3 separate regions of the Homo sapiens genome follow, and regions 1 and 3 are each linked to region 2. Evidence: promoter capture Hi-C in 16 types of primary human blood cells and fetal thymus (Javierre and others, 2016). All regions are on one chromosome and are shown on one strand. Each heading gives the region's core, a stretch centred on a gene start or on the middle of the fragment in contact. The rest is flanking DNA. Distances are from core to core; before and after follow the strand shown.

The links. Contacts are between HindIII fragments. The CHiCAGO score rates a contact against its expected background, and 5 or more counts as called.
Region 1: a fragment that was not itself captured here is called in contact with the fragment with the promoter of ZDHHC5 in region 2 in 1 of 17 cell types (neutrophils); the score reaches 6.1 in neutrophils.
Region 3: a fragment that was not itself captured here is called in contact with the fragment with the promoter of ZDHHC5 in region 2 in 1 of 17 cell types (M0 macrophages); the score reaches 5.4 in M0 macrophages.

Annotation. Positions count from the first base shown.
Region 1 is chr11:59,257,924-59,262,277 of GRCh38, forward strand. It overlaps the pseudogene WARS1P1. Among named protein-coding and RNA genes, the nearest start is that of MPEG1, 47 kb to the left of the region's middle. The HindIII fragment of the contact is 1,941 bases long and covers 2,096-4,036 here.
Region 2 is chr11:57,665,414-57,669,793 of GRCh38, forward strand. ZDHHC5 (zDHHC palmitoyltransferase 5) reads left to right here and starts at 2,701. Exons shown (of 12, transcript NM_015457.3): 1 at 2,701-2,774. RefSeq lists enhancers at 1,753-2,332, 2,502-3,141, 3,142-3,779, 3,333-3,402 and silencers at 2,533-2,772, 3,023-3,222. The HindIII fragment of the contact is 3,116 bases long and covers 176-3,291 here.
Region 3 is chr11:59,221,803-59,225,990 of GRCh38, forward strand. No RefSeq gene overlaps it. Among named protein-coding and RNA genes, the nearest start is that of MPEG1, 11 kb to the left of the region's middle. The HindIII fragment of the contact is 1,487 bases long and covers 889-2,375 here.

The DNA of each region.
Region 1 (4,354 bases), core at 1,816-4,315, 1.6 Mb after region 2:
GGAAGGTGAGCAGGGAGCCCCAAGGACCCAGTCATCCCATTTCCAACCACCCACTCCTGCATATGGGTCCTGGAAGCTCCAACAGCTGGGCATTAAGGGTTTGTAGGAGCCTTGGGAACTGGTGCCTGGGCCTTAGGAACAGGTGCTCAACTGAAACAAGATGAAAACTGAGTAGAGGCATTCACGTTTTTTAAACATGTGCTCAGAAACCTCGTGAACAAATCGCAAAAGGGCAGATATAAATTACTATTTATTTAGTAGCCACACAAAACAGTCTCATCTTACTAGTCACCAGAGAAACATAAGTTAACATGATCAAAGCTGAGACAATTCACTATAGAATTACCAGAGTTTTTGTGTTGCCCTTGACTGTGTTTTCAATGATTGTAAACCAGATGCTTCAAGGCACACCCATGTGAGTGTTCATCCACACAGCCTCAGTGAGCAGTTTGGTACCAGGTACAAAGAGCCCAAAAATGTTCAGAGCTTTGCCTCAGTTTTCCAAATCTTGGAATTTTTTCCAAGGAAATAATCCTGAATATGTAAAAGCTTTCCACACCAAGACATTAAAATGATAATAGCAAAAAGTTCAAAAGAAACTGTATAACAGAGGAAATGTTAAATTAGAATTGTTACAGGATAGGTTATTATGGGGACATGAACTATTTTAAAAGAGTTTTCATATGCAGGGTATGGTGGCACACATCTGTAGTCCCAGCTACTTGGAAGGCTGAGACGGGAGGATCCCTTGAGCTCAGGAGTTCAAATCCAGCCTGGGCAACATAATGAGACACTCATTTCTTTAACAAAACAAAAAACAAACAAAAAAAAGACTTTAGTGACACAGGAGAATATGCCTAGGATAATGAAAAAAGAACACCAAATGAAAAATGCAGTGAGAGGTTAATTGTTTAAATGAAATGCACAGGGAACGAAATGTAAAGAAAATGTGCCAAATGTTAGCAGTGGGCCCCACCTCTGGGCACTGGAATTGTAGGTGATTTTTTTCTTCAGTTTGCTGCTGTTTTGTGGTTTGGGTACCTTATTAAATTTGTTTAATGAGCATGTACTACAATCAGAAAAAGAAAAACATCAGCAAGATTTTACAGAGGCCATAAGGCTGCCAGGAATTATTGTTGTTTATGCTTGGGGGAGCAGTCCCTAGCGTCGGTGGAGGTGGGGACTGCCCTCCTCATTGGCCCTTTCACTATGAGAGACCAAGTTATGGCTACTGCCACAGCCAGGTTTCTAGTTGTTTTAAGAAAAGTGTAGCTGAAGGTACAGCTGTTTGTCATGGTAACAACAGATTTCACTTCTAAGTGCCACTTGCACGCCTGGCTCTGCAAGGGTGGTGTGGGCTGACCTGGTGTCTGAGGCAGGAAGAAGCCACTTAGGGCATGTGGAGCCATCTCTCACCATGGCTGTCTTTTTGAGGGCAGGATGACACCAGCAGAGACATGCTCACTGGTGACCTCAAGAAGATGCTCATAGAGGTTCTCCAGCCCGTGATTACAGAGCACCAAGCCCAGTGCAAGGAGGTCATGGACGAGTTAGTGAAAGAGTTCACTAACGAATGAGTTCAGTCGTGCTCATTTTATATATGCTTATAAAGAGACGTGATTTATCAATAATCCCAGCCCAATCAAAGTACCGCTACCTGTAGTCTTCCGTCACATGATCATTACTGGGCTTGGTTTCTCTAAGCCTGTGTATGTTATCAATACTGTTTATTCCTCTGAGTTTCATTATTTCTGTCTCTTGAGGGCAAAACATTGTGGGTGATTGGTGCTGACATTGCATGGTCAGATAGAGAAGTCCAGCTGTGAATCTCTCCCCCAAAGCAGCCCCAAGGCATGGAGCCTTTGGCTGGAAGTCCATGGGCCAACCTGTTCTGTCCATAGAAGACTCCTAGGGCTCCCAGTATACTCTTAAAACCCACTCTATTTTAAAATATATATTCTATGTATGCATATATGGAAGTGAAATATCATTATTGTAACCTAAAAAGTGCTTTGAAATGTTGATGTGGGGAAGTTTATTGAGCGCAAGATGTATTTCAGCCCATGACTCACCACGAAAAAAATTGATAGGTAAAAGCTTTGCTACACATTTGACTAAGAAATCAGCCAGCTTTAAAGCTGCTTTTAATCATAAAGAGTGAACAGAGTTGGGCAGTTTTTATTAAATTGAGTCTTGGGGGTGAAACTTTCCGGTTTACTTAACTCCAGACCATGCATGTATTCTACTCCGGAAATCATGCTCATTTCCCTTGACTAGTGTTTTCCCGCCAATGGATCCTAGACCCTCCATCCTGCAGAGTCAGCGGTGTCTTTTCCCCTGACTGTGTCAGATGCTGAGCAGTCATTACCTCTGCAAATGTTTCATTTTGACAATTGACCGCAATGGAAGTCAGTACAGAGCAATGCACTGGCTGTGTCCGGGATGGGTGGACGTAGCTAGGAAGAAAGTCACACAAGCAGCCCTAGAGGCCCTCACTGGTGTCTGGACAGGCTGCATTTAATCACATGCCATGTTCAGGCTTGGAAGAGAAATTCCAAATTTCAGGGGAGCCCCTGGTCGATATATCTGGGTCTCTCCTCTTGAGCGCTCTGCCTTCCTGCCGCCCCTTGGAGTAAATAAACTTCTTTGGCTCCCGCACGAGGTGCTGTGCTCTGTCTGGGAGGTCTGAGGAGGGAACAAAGTCCCCTCCCTTCCCCTCTTCATGGATGGCCTTGAGTCTGCTGGGGTCAAAATCTGGGGAAAACGCACAATCCCGGGAACCCCACCGTGCCGAGTCGTAGGCTCCCAGGAATGGGCTTGTGCTGGGACAGCCGTTAGCAGTGTCTTGGTGCGGGCTCCCTCTCACACCTCATTTCACATTCCCAACAGCTGGTGGAGAACACAAGTAGAGGTTGTCCTTGTTTCTCAGAGGAGGGGCCAGCCATGGGGTGCTTGGTGGGGCTGTGTAGTGATGGGGAGCACAGGCTGGGAGCCAGGCCAGGCCCCATTCACATGAGGCCCAGGGCAGAGTCCAAGCTGCAAGGGAGACTTGGGCTCACTATACCGGACTATCCTCATTTTGCAGGTGGGGAAACTGAGGCTTAGGAGAGGGGAACATGGCTTGTCCAAGGCCACAGGGTGACTCTGACACAGTGAGCCTGTCCTGGCTCTTGGTGCTTCTGTCTCCACACAGATACACAGGAGCACCATTTTACAAATAAGGGAATTAAGGTTCCAGTCCTGGGAGGCTGGACGCCTGGGTTCAAGTCCCACTTGGGTACTGGTGTGCAGCATGACCTCACGTAGGCCTCCTTTCCCAGCCTTGATTCCTGCTGGGCTGAGCCCTTCTCCCTGCCTTCCCAGGCCCAGCCTCTGCTCACCTGGCTGGCTGTGGCCAGTGGGAGTGAACCACTTACAGAAGATAGCATCTCACCAGCCATGTTGCCCTGGGCAACTAATACAACTTATTGTAGCTCCATTGTACCTGTGGGGCAGGTGCAATGAGGGACAACAAGTGAAGTCAATGACAGCTGCTGCTGTCATGGTCCACCCAGCCAGAGTGTCTATTGGCAGGGCCTGGGCAGGGCTGTGGGCCCAGAAGGGAGTGAGCCAACACAGACCAGCTTCTTCCCTCATCAGCTGTGTGACTTTGGACAGGTCACTTAACTTCCTGGGACCTCCATCTTCTCCCCTGTAAAAAGCAGTGATGCCTCCTATTTAGGGTATTAGGAGGGGTGCCCTGGGTCCAATAGTCAGGTGACTTGCCCAAGGCCACCGCTGGTCAGGGCAGAGGAGGGCTGCACACCTCCCATACCTCCCCCATTTTGCTAAAGTCCAGGGGTTTCCGAGAGAATTTTTCCCTGAGAGACAAGGGCACATCTGGATTAGGACGGACAGGAGCAGTGGCCCCGCAGGTATTTGGAGATGAGGTGTGAGGCCGGCTGCCAGCACCACCATGGTGCCGTAGGCTCTGCCGGAAGAGCACTCCTACTCCAGCTGGTAATGTCCTCTTGTCAGACAGATGTGGTACTGACCAAGCTTGGCCTTGCTGCCCTGTGGTCCCCAGCCTGGAAGGGAGACCAGCCAACTTTGTCTGAAAGGGTACGGTGTATGAAGAGCAATGGGTAGGGGAGCGGGGATCCAAGGTAGAGGGTGGCTGAGCACACAGGGACAGCTGCAGAACAGCTTGCCGCTCCAGGATAGTGCTCGGGGAGAAACAGGTCTGCCTCTGGCCCCCAGCCCCCGCCTGCAGCACCAGCAGATGTGATGTGTTCTCCCCAGGGCCACGCTGGCTGGGCCTTGCCGCAGGCCCAGTAATCTCTGATCATTACGGTAGAGGTTGTAGAGACAATGA
Region 2 (4,380 bases), core at 1,451-3,950:
GATTTTACTCTGGATACTTTTCAGAAGTAGCTGGCACTTTAAACCATATGTTCTATTAAACGTTCTTTCCAAGAAATATCTTGAGTGATCCCAAGGAAAACTGGACAAGTGGAATCTCTGTCTTTCAACTTTGGGATAGTGATTATACCTCTGTTAGTGCTCATCCACCTAACAAAGCTTGGCAATCCAAGTTAGTATCCCAGGGGAGTTTAGTTTGGTTGGATGGTGGAAGACTGATTTTTTTTTTCCATTTAGCACTGTCTAGCCAAGAGACACCACTATTTACAAGTTCTTAGACAGCTGAAAGGAAAATAAAAATGCCTAATTTGTGGAGGAAATCAGGAAGTCTAAAAATCCAAGAAAAATATTGCAACAGAAAAATGAAAGCTGACTTCATCTTAAAGAAACATGGCTTACAGGTAGAAAATGCCAATATCAGGCCGGGCACTGTGGCTCACACCGGTAATCTCAGCACTTTGGGAGGCCGAGGTGGGAGGATCATTTGAGGTCAGGAGTTCCAGACCAATGTGGCCATCATGGTGAAACCCCATCTCTACTAAAAATACAAATATTAGCCAGGTGTGGTGGCACATGCCTGTGATCCCAGCTACTCAGGAGGCTGAGGCATGAGAATTGCTTGAACCCGGGAGGAGGTTGCCATGAGCTGAGATCGCGCCACTGCACTCCAGCCTGGGTGACAGTGTGAGACTCCCTCTCAAAAAGTAAAAAATAAAATATCAATATTGTATCTTCAATAATTTACCTTTCATATGGTCTAAAGAGGTTTTTGTTTTGTTTTGAGACGGAGTCTTGCTCTGTTGCCCAGGCTGGAGTGAAGTTGTGTGGTCTCGGCTCACGGCAACCTCTGCCTCCCGGGTTGAAGCAATTCTCCTGCCTCAGCCTCCCGAGTAGCTGGGATTACAGGCTCCCCCGACCATGCCCGACTAATTTTTGTATTTTTAGTAGAGGGAGTTTCACTATGTTGGCCAGGCTGGTCTTGAGCACCTGACCTCGTGATCCGCCTGCCTTGGCCTCCCAAAGTGCTGGGATTACAGGTGTGAACCACCACGCCAGGCCAGGTCTGTTTTAAAAATATAAAGTCGTTATAAAGAACTCTCAAGTGTGTTGCAATAAATGCTGGATTGACGCTGTTAACAAGAATAAACTAGAACTTATAATATATGCCATGTCAGAGAAGGAACTAGATTCCAGAAAACAGAAGGTAGTTCTCTTTTACCTTACTGCCTAATGCTAGTGTCAGAACCACAGTAAAGCCAGCAACATTTGAGACCAAACCCGAGGACAGTCCTCAGGATTTTACAGGTGAGGGGCCTCGGCTTCAGGGAAGTGGCTTGTGAAACACCTTTTTGAGGGACCATTATGTAATAGCTAGAGTTGCTTTCGAAAAAAGAAATAGCCTCGAGCCGAATGGGGAGAGAACATGGGGCATTGCTATTGGGTTCACAGCTGTCTTGGGCTAATCAGGGCAAAGCGTAGCACTATGACCTATGCAGAGTTAGCTCGCCAGGGACAGTAGCTATTCTAGAGAACCTTTTGCTTTTAGCTTTGTATTCTAGGATTGGGTGAGGTGAGGGATGCGGGCGCCCATCCCACGTGTGACAGTGGGAAACTAATGGAATTCAGGGAGTTCACTTCCCGGCTCGCACTCCGGGGGCGGGAGGGTGCTGCCACCGCCTCAGGTCGCGCGCTCCTTAGGCTTCCCTCTCACGGTTAGCGCTACGGCTCCAAGGCTGGCGCCTGCTCTTCTTCATCTCCCTCCCCGGCCCTTGGCAGGAGCCTCGCCCTACATTGGCTCTTCAAGTCCGGGCGTCCCCTTCATGTGGGAGACACAGCCCAGACCATTCCATCGCCCTGGATTCTGCCCGGACCAGCGACCTCGCCGGACTGAAGATTTCTCCAGCAAGATTGTTTTAAATAAAGTTTTTGCCATCAAAAAAAAAAAAAAAAAAAAAAAAGGAGATGGGAAGGAGAAGAGGGAGGCCTAGTCGCCAAATGGTTGGCCAATCCGCCGCGAAGGGGCTGAAGCAGGAAGCGGCGATAGTCGTCGGTAATTGGCTGCGCTGGAAGCCTGTCTGGACTGTACCACCTCAGTAGGAGAGGGGTTGCTGAATTCGAGAAGGTAGCTGCTTGCTTTTGAGTACTTCTAGTACACACACATAATTCTTTTCTTATTTCCGGGGGTTTTTGCTTGGATTCAGTGGGAATACAACAGGACGCAGGAGAAGGGAAGACTCGCCTGGCCATTTCCTCATTCCTGACTCCTGTGCATTAGGCCAATCCTTGTCTCTTAGTTGTCCCCGCAACCCCACGGCCTTACGTGCGCGCTCTCGTCTTCTCGCGTGCGTACGTCGTTGTGTTGCTGCAGCCAATCAGGCCGCGAGGTCGCCGCGGTCGCCAGGGTTCGCGCGCACGCCCCAGATCGGAGTCGGGGTGGGGGCTATGGGTGAATGGGAGAGTGAGCGGGGTTGGGCGCGGCAGCGCGAGCCGCATGAATGAGACAAACGTGCGCCGCGCGAGACGTCGCGCGAGCCCGGACTAGGGAGCCAATGGGAACGCTGGAAGGGTTCGAGACCCGGCACTGAGGGCAACGGCCGCGCGCCGGCTCCGAGACGAGCGACGCCTGGCGGGAGCGCGCGGCAGCGGGGCGGGCGTGGAGCGTGCGGGGGCCGCGCGCTGCTTCTCTGAGGCAGGACGGCACTGCCGGGAGGCGGCGGTGACAACGACGGCGGTGGTGACGGGCACCGGGCTCGCGGGTGAGTGCGGAGGACACCGGTCCCTGCGGAACCGGAAGTGCCGTACCAGCGAGGTGGGAGGGGAGGGTGACCTCTAGGGAAGGGGGACCGAAGACGGGGAGGGTATTAAGGCCCTATTTCTCCTCCGGGCCGGGTCTTCCAACCGCGGCGGGACCCATGGGCCTTGGAAACGGACGACGAGTAGAGGCCGGGGATCCACGACCGCCAGGGCTCGGAACGGGTTAGAGACGGCCACTCAGCTCGAGACCGCGGTCCCCGGTGCCTGGCGCCCAGCCGCCGCCCCTTCCGCCCCCGGCCCTGCGCCCTCGGGCTCTGCGGTCCCCGCAGCCCGCTCTCTCAACCTCGGTGGGCCTGGCCGCCGTGGATTCCTTCTTTTCGGTTTCAGCGGTCGTCAGCCCTGCCCCAACGGGTGATTCTCCTTTCCCCAGTCCCGTGGTGGGGACCGGGTGCTGTTTCCCTTTTACCGCTCTGCGGTTCGAGTCCCTCGCTCCACTCTGCTGATACTTATTTTGGCTCAAGCTTCATCCTGTTACCTGTTCTCTCTCACCCGTCCGCTTCCTCCTCCTACCGCCACCAGCCGAGTGCTCCATGCGTTTAGTACTTTGTACTTTTTAAAGTGGAGCCCGAATGCGTTTGTCAATATTTTACCTATATTTGGGGCAGGCAGGTGGAAAGTGTTTTACCCACTTGGCCAAATGAAACACTGAAATAAGAAGTAAGAAAGTTGCTAAAAGTTAGGAAGGCAGTTGTAGGATCACATATACGTTATACGCTAGACTATTTTTTGCCTTGGATTCTTCACTTCCTGGTTAATGCCATCTTGACCAAGTTGATCTAACATTTGCATATCATCCTTCTATCTCAGTATACCTCTGTCCTGGATCAAATATCTTCAGAATGCTCATTATCACCCATTGTATAAACTTAATGTTTACAAAATTATATTGCCATGTATTTTGCTACCTCGGTATATAATGATAACACCCACATTAAACTTCTTGGCTCTTTCTCCCATACCTTGACATGTGAATTATTCCATGGTACCTCCATTACTGTGCATTTAGATTTACTCTATTGTACTGTTACACCGCTTATTTCAACAAAAAATAGTTGTGTTGTCCTTGGTACTGCTGGTATCCACCTATTTAAGGAAATACCTGTATTAAACCTTATTAAAGCCTTCAAACCACATATCCTGTATTGTTTGTTTTACATATACATATTTCCATTTCATAGTTTACTCTGTGCCTCAATATGGCATACATATTACTTTTTTTCTCATTTTTGAGACGGAGTCTGGCTCTGTCGCCCAGGCTGGAGTGCAGTGGCTGCTATCTTGGCTCACTGCAACTTCCACCTCCCGGGTTCAAGCGATTCTCGTGTCTCAGCCTCCCTAGTAGCTGGGATTTCAGGCATGCCCCATCACGCCCTGCTCATTTGTTTGTATTTTTAGTAGAGACAGGGTTTTGGTATGTTGGCCAGGCTGGTCTCGAACTCCTGACCTCAAATGATCCGCCCGCCTCGGCCTCCCAAAGTGCTGGGATTACAGGCGTGAGCCCCCGTGCCCAGCTGGCATACATATTCTTGTATACTTTTTTGATACTAG
Region 3 (4,188 bases), core at 382-2,881, 1.6 Mb after region 2:
ATGGAATACTCAAGCTTAAGTAACGTTATTATGAAATTTTTATTTGAATTTACTACAATATTTTTGAACAGTTACCCTGGGTCTAGTTTGTGCTATTTGTGTTTCTTACTATAAAAGAATTGGTTTTCTGGTCTGAAGTTATATCCTTGGCAAACGTGGGATGGTGTAAACTTGATGTCTTACATAATGAATCAATTACAAAGCCTAAAGACAGTGCTCCTCTATGCCAAAAGCTTTGGCCTTATTTACATCTGATCTGGTCTTCAAGGCTCTGGCCCTGCAAGGCTGAACCCATAGCCAGTTCCGTACCCACCTTGCTTCCCATCTTTGCCTGATATCTGCAGCTAATGAGTCTGTCCTAAAGGTACCTGGTCTTACCCCTCTCCCTGTTCCTAACCCTCCTACATAGATATAGAAGCTGGGTGGGGCAAAGGTTGGGAAGGAAGAAGAAACTCTCACAGAACCTGACTTGCCCCAATTGTAATAACACTTTCATTATGCCAACAGCAGGAGAAGGACTAAGTAGGGGAAAACTAGGAAAGAGAACCAGGTCAGCATAATGCAAATACAAGACAGGAGGCATTTATTTAAAATTTCTAGTTATTAGAGAGCCAAATAGGAGCTTTGCTAATTAGAACTAGGGTCCTCACTCCAGCTTTTCCTAGATCCTTGATAGGTCTTTCTCTCTTTTCTACTGGTCCTCTCTTCAAGTTAGATTTTTAATTTTTACCTTGAGAAATTAGGGCCTCATGGGACAGAAAAAGTAGCACAGGGCTAGAAACCTGGTAACTTTGATTCTATTCCTCATTCTCCCACTAACCTAAGGGTGACTTTAGACAAGTCACTTCCCCTCTCTGAGTCTCTGTTTCCCCATCTGTAAAATAAAAAAGCTTGTTGAGATTCTCTCCAGCATCTGAATGACACACAGTCTGTGATTCTGCAATCCAGTGATAACAAACTTCTTCAAAATTATGACCATGATGTTTTACTTGAAAAAAAAAAAGAATATCTTGTTGAATCCAGGTCATGGTGTGGAAATTTTTCCGTGTTTTGTTTCTGCTGATACTTCCCCTTTGTGACTTGCTTCCTTGTGTGGTTTGTAACTTATGAGTCTTGAGCTGCATTTCCACTGGGGTTGTTTGCTGTGGGAGGCTGGTTTGCTCCGGTTTATGGAACTGTCCCTCCAAGATAGTTTTAGCTTTGCCTCTGCTGAGGCCTACTCTATCAGTATATGAGGACTTAGATTCAATATACTGAATAAACTTATACTGAATATGCTGAGTATATGAGGCCTTATGCTGAACCAGTGTTTATGGTAATTTCTTGGTTTGGGAACAATGTGAACAAAAACGTCACACCTATGTGGTCATAAGCCTTCTTGACTCCCAAGACAGTTCCATCACCCCCTTGAACATTGTACACAGGACCAGCAGCCTGGATCCCCACCCACAGCCCTTAAAGCCCCAAGACTCTGCCATTAAGTCTACGTAAGGCCCAACAAGCTCCTTAGCTGCAGGGCTTCAACTCCCACTTACTGCTCTGATTTTGAGTTCTCTCTTTTTGGCCTTCAGGTATTTCCCTTTCTTGGTTTTGAGCTTGAATCTTTGTGTTTGAAGAAATGTGTCTATACCTGAGTATATGCAGGGCAGGGTTTCCATGCATCAGCTCACCCAGCCAAGTTCTCTTTTGTTATAATTATTTTGTAATTGTTAACTTTTTCTTAGATGTAACAGGTTGCCATGCATGTATTGTGGTTTCAGGGCTGTGGGAAACAAACTTTCCTGCTGTCACACCCCTGCCCTGAATAAAATAATACTTTCACAGAAGTCTAAAACCCTTTTTTTCTGAAAGTAACAACTTTCTTTCCATAGGGAGAGCTCAGGCTGCAAATGTAATTAATCTGCCTTCCCTCTCCCTGAACCGCTAGAATAAAGATGAAGAACTGCTATTTCACCAAGTGATGACAACACAACTTTTCCTGAGAGTCGGGAGAGGGCAAAAGAGCAGCTAGTGATTGCATCAGTGAAGTGGGGAGAGAAAAAGACAGAGAGAATTGAGGTCTGAGGGTGGAGAAAGGTCTGGAGACTAACTTCACTGGCAGTGGGATGTTAACAAGAGCCAGATCTCTGCAATGTTCTTCTCCTTTACTTTCATGGTGGGTGAGATAATATGAAGGAATTCTTCATAGAGAGGAAAGATTATGGTCAGGACATGAGGATTCAGGAGCAGTCGGTGTGAATCCTAGCTCTGCCACCATCTTGCAAATTGCTTCCTTTCTCTGGGCTTTCATTTTCTCACTTACAAAATTAGAGGATTATATTAAATTTGTGGATTATAAGCATTATTCAGCTGTAGAGCCTTTCTTTTCCCATGTAAGCTTACATGGAAACCAAAAATATAAAACATATGAAAGAAGAGCTCCCTCGGTTGAGCAGGAAGCAGGGCGCCAAAGCCCAGAAGTTCACTTCCTCCTCACCTCTCAGAGCAGGCCTGGGATCCCTGGAACACAATTTGAAAACTGCCAGTCCGTATATTCTCTTATGGTTTCTTCCATTTGAGGCATGATAATTATGATGAGAAGAAGTTTTCCAAGCCACAGGATTCATGGGATAGCTGAAGTAGCATGATTTCCTTGAAAACAGGAAATCAGAGTCGCCAAACAGTGGAGCAAGGGTTTTCAGACCGTACTGCATTCTTCCTTCTAGAACCTTTCACCTCCTCTTGGGTAAGTTGTCAACAAGCAACACCCAGCTGTTGTGTGATAAGTGGAAAGATTGCTGGGCCAGAAAAGAGTGCTTTCATTAACCAGCTGTGAGACATTAGCAAATTTTTTCCCCACTGGGAGCTCCAGTTATTTGCTTGTAAACAGAGGAGAGTGGGTAGAGCAGTCACTAAGAGATCATGGATAGCTCTAAAAATGTTGTGAGGTACAGTCAAATTAATAATGTACTCCTCCCCAAATTTGTTGAGCAAATACTGAGTCAGGCACCAGTTGCTTTGTCATGAAGATTATAGAGTCATTCAAGGACAGACATTGAACACGATGCACTATGTGAAAGGGAAGTTCAAGATGCTGAGAGAACGTAGCAGGGAAGTGAATGTGGCCCTGGGGATCAGCATGGCCCTCCAAGACAGACGGAGAGGGAGATGGAGATTCAGAGACAAAGAGCCACACGTGGAGACAGAGACAGAGAAACAGAGAGAGAGAGAGACAGACAGAGATATGGAGAGAAACAGAAACAGACACAAAGAGAGAGAGACAGAGAAAGAAGAGACAAAAACAGAGTCAGAGACAAAGATAGACATAGAAGAACAGAGAGGAATGACAGAGACAGAGATAGAAATAGACAGATATATAGAGATAGAGACAGAGATATATACAGAAACAGAAAGACAAAGAGATAGACATAGAGACAGAGAACAGAAACAGAGAGAGAGAAAAGAAACAGAGAGATAGACCACGGATAGAGATACAGAGACAGGGAGACAGAGATAGAGAGACAGAGTGAGTCATAGAGACAGATAGAAAGGCAGAGACAGAGACAGAAACAGATTGTTTTCATCCATTTTAAATTGCTATAAAGGAACACTTGAGGCTGGGTAATTTGTAAAGAAAATAGGTTTAATTGGCTCACAGTTCTGCAGGCTTTATATAAAGCACGGCACCAGCATCTGCTCCTGGAGAGGACTCAGGAAGCTTTGAATCATGGCAGAATGCAAAGGGGGAGCAGGTGCATCACACATCGCATGGCGAGAGTGGGAGCAAGAGAGACAGAGAAGGTGGATGTCCCAAACTCTTTCAAACAACCAGCTCTCAGGTGAACTAACTGGGCAAGAACTCACTTATCACCAAGGGGATGGTGCTCTTCCATTCATGAGGGATTCGCCCCCATGATCCAGTCACCTCCCACCAGGCCCTACCTCCAACATTGGGAATCCCATTTCGAAGGGAGATTTGGAAAAGACACATATCCAAACCATATCACAGATAGAGAGACAGAGACTGAGACATACTGAAAGAGAATGGAGATAATGTTGGGAAGTCTAGGGTGACTACAGATTACAGAGGTGGCTGTGGTTTGAGCAGAGGCTGGAGAGACAGGTATAGGAGTGGATTTTATCATGCATTGTATATGATAAGAATTGGGGACTTCATCAGTTAATAAAAGGTTTTATTCAGGAGAGTAA